Regions from separate parts of the Homo sapiens genome. Here all the other regions are linked to region 2. The links are contacts of gene promoters, found by promoter capture Hi-C in blood cells and fetal thymus (Javierre and others, 2016). All regions are on one chromosome and are shown on one strand. The core of a region is centred on a gene start or on the middle of the fragment in contact, and the rest is flanking DNA. Distances in the headings are between cores, read along the strand shown. Region 1 has its middle 4.1 kb from the start of PABIR3. Region 2 holds the start of INTS6L (integrator complex subunit 6 like). Region 3 holds the start of SMIM10 (small integral membrane protein 10).

The links. The method cuts DNA at HindIII sites, captures the fragments that hold promoters and counts their contacts. A CHiCAGO score of 5 or more calls a contact.
Region 1: a fragment that was not itself captured here is called in contact with the fragment with the promoter of INTS6L in region 2 in 6 of 17 cell types (neutrophils, naive CD8 T cells, total B cells and 3 more); the score reaches 8.9 in neutrophils.
Region 3: a contact is called between the fragment with the promoter of SMIM10 here and the fragment with the promoter of INTS6L in region 2, in 2 of 17 cell types (naive CD8 T cells and naive CD4 T cells). The highest score is 6.3, in naive CD8 T cells.

Annotation. Positions count from the first base shown.
Region 1 is chrX:134,801,796-134,804,495 of GRCh38, forward strand. It overlaps a transcript of PABIR3 not described here. Among named protein-coding and RNA genes, the nearest start is that of PABIR3, 4.1 kb to the right of the region's middle. The HindIII fragment of the contact is 7,504 bases long and covers 1-2,700 here.
Region 2 is chrX:135,519,396-135,522,095 of GRCh38, forward strand. INTS6L (integrator complex subunit 6 like) reads left to right here and starts at 1,265. Exons shown (of 18, transcript NM_001351601.3): 1 at 1,265-1,708; 2 at 1,846-1,923. The coding sequence starts at 1,598. INTS6L-AS1 (INTS6L antisense RNA 1) reads right to left here and starts at 1,279. Exons shown (of 2, transcript NR_046740.1): 1 at 1,172-1,279; 2 at 688-977. RefSeq lists enhancers at 1,419-1,498, 1,529-1,588 and silencers at 1,839-2,108, 2,169-2,368. The HindIII fragment of the contact is 2,771 bases long and covers 705-2,700 here.
Region 3 is chrX:134,989,680-134,992,469 of GRCh38, forward strand. SMIM10 (small integral membrane protein 10) reads left to right here and starts at 1,312. Exons shown (of 1, transcript NM_001163438.2): 1 at 1,312-2,790. The coding sequence starts at 1,417. The coding sequence ends at 1,668. The HindIII fragment of the contact is 12,586 bases long and covers 1-2,790 here.

The DNA of each region.
Region 1 (2,700 bases), core at 82-2,581, 720 kb before region 2:
ACTGATTTGAGGTTTTCTGCATAGGGGCCATGCTGTATTACAAAAGAAAATTCGACTTTTTTTTTTTTTTTAATCTGAGGGTTACATTTGTCTCAGCGTTTTGGGATGCAACTCATAGGTGAGTCTGACGGAATAGAGGAGGTTTGTCCCATGGTGGGACTGGAAAACGATGAGCTGCCGGGGACTAACGTCTGCTGCAGACACGAACCACACTCTCTCGCCGCCCCCACCCCCCTGCCCCACCAGGAAGAGGGCTCAACTCACATCTGCTGAGGGATTCCAGTGCACTTTCTTTTCTTTTCTTTTGAGATGGAATCTCGCTTTGTCGCCCAGGCTGGAGTGCAGTGGTGGGATCTCGGCTCACTGCAACCTCCGCCTCCCAGGTTCAAGCGATTCTCCTGTGTCAGCCTCCCAGGTAGCTGGGATTACAGGCATGCACCACTACGTCCAGCTAATTTTTTGTATTTTTAGTAGAGATGGGGTTTCGCCATGTTGGCCAGGCTGGTCTTGAACTCCTGACCTCAGGTGATCCACCCACCTCGGCCTCCCAAAGTGCTGGGATTACAGGCATGAGCCACCGTGCCCGGCCTCAAGTGCACTCTCTAAAGGGGCATCCCACCTATTAGAAAGGACATCTCAGCGCTGGGGCCTTACGCTGGATGGTTAGCCCCGGTACAAGGAAAAAGGGTAAAGGAAGAACTCAGCCTGGTCCCATCCCAGGAGAGAGGACCAGAATGGGGAGACTCACTGCTCTGAGGCTGCTTGCTATCACCTAATTTGGGAACGTCCAGAGCAGGAGGTCTGGCTGTTTTTGCAGGACTATTTAGAGTAAGAAAGAGGGGCTCTGAGCTCCCCAAAACATATGTGCCAATTGCACTACATAGGGATTGCAGACCTTTTCGCCAGAAGAGATAGGAGAGGGCCTTCTTCCCTTCTAGGCAAGGCAGCCAAACCTGTTCACACCCGCTGGCCTTGAGGCCACACCAGGAAATGGCCCTGACCAGTTGCCATCAATTGCCAGAGGGATACTAGAATTTGTCCTCTGGAAGACTGAAAAGTAAAGCAAATTCTGAAGTCTCACAGAATCGTGGGACAGCAGTCTGGTGTCTTTCCACCAGGACCTTCTGGTTCCCTGGGGAGCAGCCCCGGCCAGGGACTTAAAATTATCTCAGGGTTTTGACACTGTCCAACGAGAGGTTGGAATTGGAGGAAAGGGAGAAAGTAGGGGAGAGGCCCATACGAACTACCAAAATGTTGCAGGTGCAGCTGGCCAGTGGCGCAGGTGGTAAAGGAATTGACCAAGACAGTTGTAGGTAAAGAAAGGCAGATTTACTAGAGAAGGTATGGAAGTATGTTGCAAGGAGGCAAAGGGCAGCACTGCAGAGGAGGAGCTGTCTGCAAAGAGGCAGGGGCTGGAGGGAGCTGGAGGGGGCTGCATGTGGAAACAAGTCATGCTGCTGGGGCCACATGTGGAAGGAGGTCTTTGTGCCCTAGGTCTCTCAGAACAATTTTTCATTGTTCTTCCCCACCTGGGGCCCCTTTCTCATTGTTTCTTACTTATCTTATCAGGACTCCACAAACTCTTTTAATCCTCACCACTTGAATGGCCCTGGGGAAGAGAAGGCCATTGCATTGAAATGTAATAGTTCTGAAATTGCTTTCAAAATTCAGCCAGAAATAATAATTTTGCCTGCCTCTTTTCAATTATCCCATACTAAACTTGCCAAGGCCAATTATCATTTTATTCCTCACTGTTTATGCTTTCTGCCTGCAGTATGAGGGATTTGTAAGTACTTTTAGATAGTTTCCTTTAAATTGCCTGTATTTTTCTCCCAGCTAGATTAGAAACAACAACCTCTGTTTTTGAGCAACTTAGGTATCTCTTTTTATCTCAAGGTCTCAGCAACCCTTAAGGCCAGCCCCACCTCCTACTCCCTGCTCAAAAGAAATTATAATACATTCTTTTGTTCACAATAGCTACTAAACAATCATTTGTTGACCACATGCATGCACTGACCTCAGGAGCTTAACAATTTAGGAGAACGCGAGGAGAATAATGCTACTTTGGCCATCATTTCTAGGTTTTATTAACATCATTCTTGCCTGCTAGTTTTTTTTTTTTTTTTAACCTTTCATGTAAATCTTTTGGGAAGGTTTGGGGTGTTTGTGGTTTGTAGATTTGGGTTTGACTTGTATTTGACTTGCTCTTGTGGTAACTAAAGGTTACAACGTAGCTTCAAGGTTGTCATGACAACTGGTAAAATAAAGAGCTGATTATCACATGTTTGTTGGTTCCCTTTTATAGGTGAGGGCCTGGGACAGACGCAGCAGACTGGGATATGCAAAGAGAGGAGTAGCCTAATTGTCAAGTCTAGATCTAACAAAAGCAGTGTCCCAAGATCATGGCATATTTCCCTGGAACTGGAAGGACTGATCAAGAAACACAGCTAGGTTGGTATAATAATGTGTGCGTAGAAATGGGGAGAAGTAAAAACAATTTCTTTAATGTTGTGTTTGCCATTGTAGCATATAGAATTCTTGCTGTTTTTGTATTACTTGTTCCTTTTGATATTCCAATTTGTGTATGTACTATGAGTCCTATTTATATCTTTACAGGTTTGGGGTTCCTGACATGTAGCTGTTCTTTTGTAAAAGAGAGCTCCTTCTCTTTGATAATAGCTGTAAACTTATTACCATCTC
Region 2 (2,700 bases), core at 15-2,514:
ATGAGCCACTGCGCCTGGCCAAAATATATAAAATATTATGTATGTATATGTCATCATCTCTCCTCAATGAAACTGCAAACTCATTGAAGTCCTGGATTCCACATTGTCAATAGTAATTGCCAGGAATACACAAGTCCAATTTTTAAAATTGTGTCATATGAAGTAGTCAATCAAGTGTGGTTGGCCACTTACTGAGTCTCTTCACAGAGCCAGACCTGAGAGTATCCGTAATTGTTACCCTAACCTCAGGGAGCTGCATTTTCCTCTACTGAAAATTGAATACAATGCCATCTGCCATAATTAATTCAAAGATTAAACAAGGCTACCGTGGGTGCCTGGCTCTTCATAGGCACTCAATAAATGTGAGTTGAGAGCCTGCCCCTGTGGTCCCAGCTACTTGAGAGGCTGAGATGGGAGGATCGCTTAAGCCCAGGAGCTGGACGCTGCAGGCAGCTATGATGGGGCCACTGCACTCCAGCCTGGGCGATCAAGCGAGATCCTCTTTATTTATTTATAAAAATAAATAAATAAATAAATATGTGAGTTGAATCACAATCTAGGTTTGCAAACCTCCATGTGTAAAGGCTGCGCAGAGGGAACAGTGGTGGAATTATCACAGGCAGGCCAATGTTTCAAAGAGCTTAGTGAAACTGAAGAAGCTTGTGCATACAAAAGGCCAGTTTAGGTAACTGTAACTGTGTTTAAGCTTTAGTTTCCTTTCTAAGTAGATATATGTGGAATGCAAGGCCAGCAACCAACTCACAAATACTGATCAAGACGGGGGAGGGATCTAAAGGAATGTGAGTACGTCCTGCCAGGAAAGAAGTTTGCTGCTTCTGAAATATTTTCGTCTTCGCCACTGGCAGGATTGATCGATTGCAGTTAGCGAAGAATTTTCTGTGCAAACTGTCCAAGCATCTGCTTCTGTACTTCTGTACAACTGTTGCTCAAATTCACTCTTCTTTTCGAATCACCATCTTTGAAGAGAGACAGAAAAATCCATTTAAACCACCCGAACTAATCATTCGAACTGCTTCCAAGTCCTTTAAAGGAGAATCCTAGCGAGGGTCCGTAACACTTCCCCTTACCCTCTGCCTGGGTTCAAACTTCAACTCCCAGGGTTCGCCCAAGTCCCTCCCCTAGTCCTGTCATCTAATGAATATGCAAATACCACATAATTGGCAGCCAATGGCATGGGTTCTGGTCACATGGTGCCGATGGTAGGTGAGCAGACAGAAGTTGTCAGTGAACAGAGACGGCGCTCAGTCTGGGGCGAGCGCTCTAGTGAGCGCGGACGGATGCTTAGGCAGTAGTCCTGGCAGCGGCAGTAGTGGTGGCAGCAGAAGAGAGGAAGGGGGAGGGCCCCGAGGGCTACACACGCTCACACTTTCAAGTTCCCTTGGAGGGAGAGGAGGTGGGGCTGCAGAAAGAGGAGGCCAGGAGCGGTCCCATCCGTCCCGTCCCGTCCCGTCTCCCCCTCTTCCTCTTGCTCCTTGCTCCCCGGCTCTGCGAGAGTTGAGGGTTCAGGTGGCCGTACGCGGCAGTGAGGGCAAGAGGGCCGGGAGAGTGGGGAGCGGAGGCAGGAGTGCGGGGGAAGATGCCCATCCTGCTGTTCCTCATAGACACGTCCGCCTCTATGAACCAGCGCACTGACCTGGGCACCTCTTATTTGGACATTGCCAAAGGCGCTGTGGAGTTATTCTTGAAGGTAAAGGGAGGGGAGGGGAGAGATGGGGAGAGCTCCCGAGGGATTTCAGGGTGTGGATTGAGGTGCTTCTGTAACGTTTGTATCGCCCTCCCCCCTCCTTTCCTACGCGACCCCCTCCGTCATCCCTTGCCCCGCAGCTGCGCGCCCGGGACCCGGCCAGCCGTGGAGACAGGTACATGCTGGTCACCTACGACGAACCCCCGTACTGCATCAAGGTAAAGGGGCTACGGGTGGGGGGACAGGCGGGAAGCGGGAGCAAGTCGGCGGGGGCTGCTTACCCCCCTGCCCCCGCCTAAGGCGGTCCTGCGTCGCCCGGCGGGGCGGGCGGCGAGGGGGTGCGCAGAGGGCGGGCGGAGTGGTGCCGTCGGCGGCTTCGGAGTAGCTGTCGCGCCTGGGGTCGGGGAGAGGGGACCGGGGAGGAGCAGCCCCGGGGAGAAACCGCAGGAGGGCCGAGCTCGTGGCGCGACAACCGCAGCCGCCTCGGAACATGGCGGACATTTTGCTTTTGTATGAGCCTGCGAGAGGGAGACTGAGGGCGCTGCTGAGATGGAAAGGAGGGAGGGGAGGGAGGAGCGGGGAAGGAGGGCCCGAAACCCGGAGGGAGGCTGCGAGGCGGGCCCGCCCCTTCGAGGCGCACCGCGCGAGGGTCGCCGCGCGGGGGGCCGGACGGAGCCTGCGACTCCGCCCCGAGGTCCTGCCGGCCGGGCGCGCGGGCTTTCCCGGAGCCTGGGCTCCTCCTCTGGCCCCTCCTTCCTCCCCCGGTCTTCCTCCCCCTCCTTGGGCTCTTCGCTGCATCTCCTCCTTCTCCCCCTCTTCCTCCTGGTCCCCTCCCCTTCCTGCTGAGAGCGTGGCAGAGCCAGCCGCCGGCCTTCAAAGACTAGACAACCGCCTTTGCACTCGTTGGCCTCTCACCACCCCCGCGCAATCGGAAATCTGTCCGCGACGCCAGTCTCCCCACCCCCAGACCCGGAGAAAGTCTTTGCGTTTCTGCT
Region 3 (2,790 bases), core at 62-2,561, 530 kb before region 2:
GTTTTACGATTTGTAAATATATCTATGTGCGTATACATGTTTGTGCTTATAAATATACGCAAACAATTGATAAAAACATATACAAATTAGTAGTCTTTCTCTCTAGGGGGTTATGAGCCTAGGAATTTTACTTTTCTCATAATAAATATGATGTTTAATGTTTTACAAGCCATCAGAAAAACAATATTGAAAACTTCAGAAATTTAGAAAAGTTGCTCAACTGCACTGACAATTAAATGAATGCAAATTAGAAGAATAATGAAATGTACTGCCTATCATATTGGTAATAAAAAAATTAAGATTGTTAACACTCAAGGTAACATAGAGCCCTGATCTCTAAACTTTTTTGATCAATCGCATGTATTAGTAAAACGTTTTGGCTTTGAACACTAAATGTATATGTATATGTAATTGTTTTCATAAACAAAGATGGGGTCATATTATTCCTACTGTTCTGCCACTTGTAAATTCATATGTACAGTGATGTTCACTGAAACAATTTTTGACATATGAAAAACTAGAAACATTCAGAATGTCCATCAATAGGGATCTGGTTAAATAAATTATTGACCACTATTAGTCAACATGTACATAGATCACTATTCAGTCATCAAAGAGAGTGAAGTAGATGTACATTCTTGAAAAGGTAAGAGCAATATATCAATACATAAAGTCGGGAAGTAGATACAGCAAACGTAATAGTAGTTCATGGCAAGGGTAGGAGGGGAAAGTGAAGCTATGCAGGGAATTTGCTTTCTATTGTTTTACATATTTCTGCTTTGAAAATTTCTAAAAACTTGATTGAATGACTTTTCCAATCAGAAGAATACGAAAGATCTAACACAAAAACAGAAGTATTGCTTGAATTATTCAAGCAGAATGCACACATTTTAATGTCCAGAAAAGTTGCGGGTTTTGTATATTTGTACTAGCTCAAGAGTTGAGGATTGAAAAACGTTCCTAAAGGGATGAGACAACAGGAAATGGGTTTGTGCTTCTGAGTTGCTCAAGATCATGCTTATGAAGGACATTTTATATCGTTTTGAGCAAGTTTTGTGTTCCTTTTGTTAAAACTTAAAAAACTGAAAAAAACTTAAAAATTAAACATAATTTTAAAGAAAAGACAGCCCGGGTTAGGAAGCTAGGTCTCCCACGTCAGCACGTGCCCTGCCCTTCCTGGGGTTCTGGGGCCTGGGCCAGGACAGTTAGGCTAAACTGACTCTAGGCCACGCGGACCCCGTGGGGCGGGGCGGAACCTGGCAGGGCGCCAGTGACCGCTGGGGCCAGAGCCCTGCCGGGAAAGGAGGGCTTCCGCCTTGCAGCGCAGCTCGGATCAGCAGCAGCCCAGGAGGCCTCCCGCCCGTACTTTCCCGCGTCCATCCCTCTGTCCCACGGTCGGTGAGTCAGCGGAGCCTGATGGAGGCCTTGGGCTCTGGGCACTATGTGGGAGGCAGCATCAGGTCCATGGCGGCGGCGGCCCTGTCTGGCCTGGCGGTGCGGCTGTCGCGCCCGCAGGGGACCCGCGGCTCTTACGGCGCCTTCTGCAAGACGCTCACGCGCACGCTGCTCACCTTCTTCGACCTGGCCTGGCGGCTGCGCAAGAACTTCTTTTACTTCTATATTCTGGCCTCGGTGATTCTCAACGTCCACCTGCAGGTATATATTTAGAGCCACTAACTTTGTGGCATTTGGGGGCTCCTCGTCAGGATGGCTGACTTCCACCCACCTGCTCACCCACCCTAGAGCAAAGCGACCAACTCCGCTCCTGCATGCAGACTTGCCACTCATTCTTTCCATTGCCTCATCTTTTAGTATAAATGGGTGGCAAAAAAAGAAAAAAACAGCATTTGTGGAAAGCCTGAAATATAACCCAAATCGTCTAAGATAGAATGAAAAATTGACTCTCAAGGAAATATTTGAAGGAACAGAATACAGCTTAAAAATTTGAAAATCCTTAAAAATATCTGAGAAGTTTTTGCATCCGTAAAACAGAAAACAGCACGAACTTTAGGAAATGACAATGGGCACAGAATGCAATAAAAAAAAAAAACGGGGAAAGGTAACTAAAAACTTAAGGAAAGATAAACTGAACAAGAATGGCTCAGACAGCAGGCAAATCTCCCCAATTAGAAACGAAGTGAATAGACCCAATTGAATGAGATGAATTCTAAGCAATAGATGGATTGAATAATAAGCTGGAGGACATTAATAACATGTTCTGGAAGGCATACATTTCTTCAACCCAAAGGAAAAAAAATGACAGAAAGAAACTACAGGGAAGAACATTAAAAACTGTGCAAGAAACTTATGTTTCACATATGAAGCAACCTCAGATGTGGCATGGTTTTGAACAGTTGCCGAAAGTGTGAGAAAGGGAATCTGTTTGAATATTGGCACATGGATCAAGACTCTGGAGTCGGTGATGAGAAAATCCAATCAGAGCATTCCACTTTGCTATTCATTGAACCAGGTAGCCAACAGAAGAGTTAAAAATTAGTGATATGACTATATTCAGGGGGAAGGAGAGCTGAGGGGGGCGGCAGGAAGTCAGCAGAAAATGCCTCATGTCATTAAGTCAAGAAATAGTAATAAAGGCATGTTATTGAAAAAGGGGGTGTAATCTCTAAACAAGCACGTGTAGAAGTTTGTGTTTCTGATTTGGGGAAGCAAGAGTTGAGAAGGAGGGACAGTTCTATTACTTTTCATTATATGTCCTTTTTCTACTGTTTGATTTTTAAAAACTATACACATGTATTGCTTTTGCTTCGATTAAAAATCAAGACATTAAAA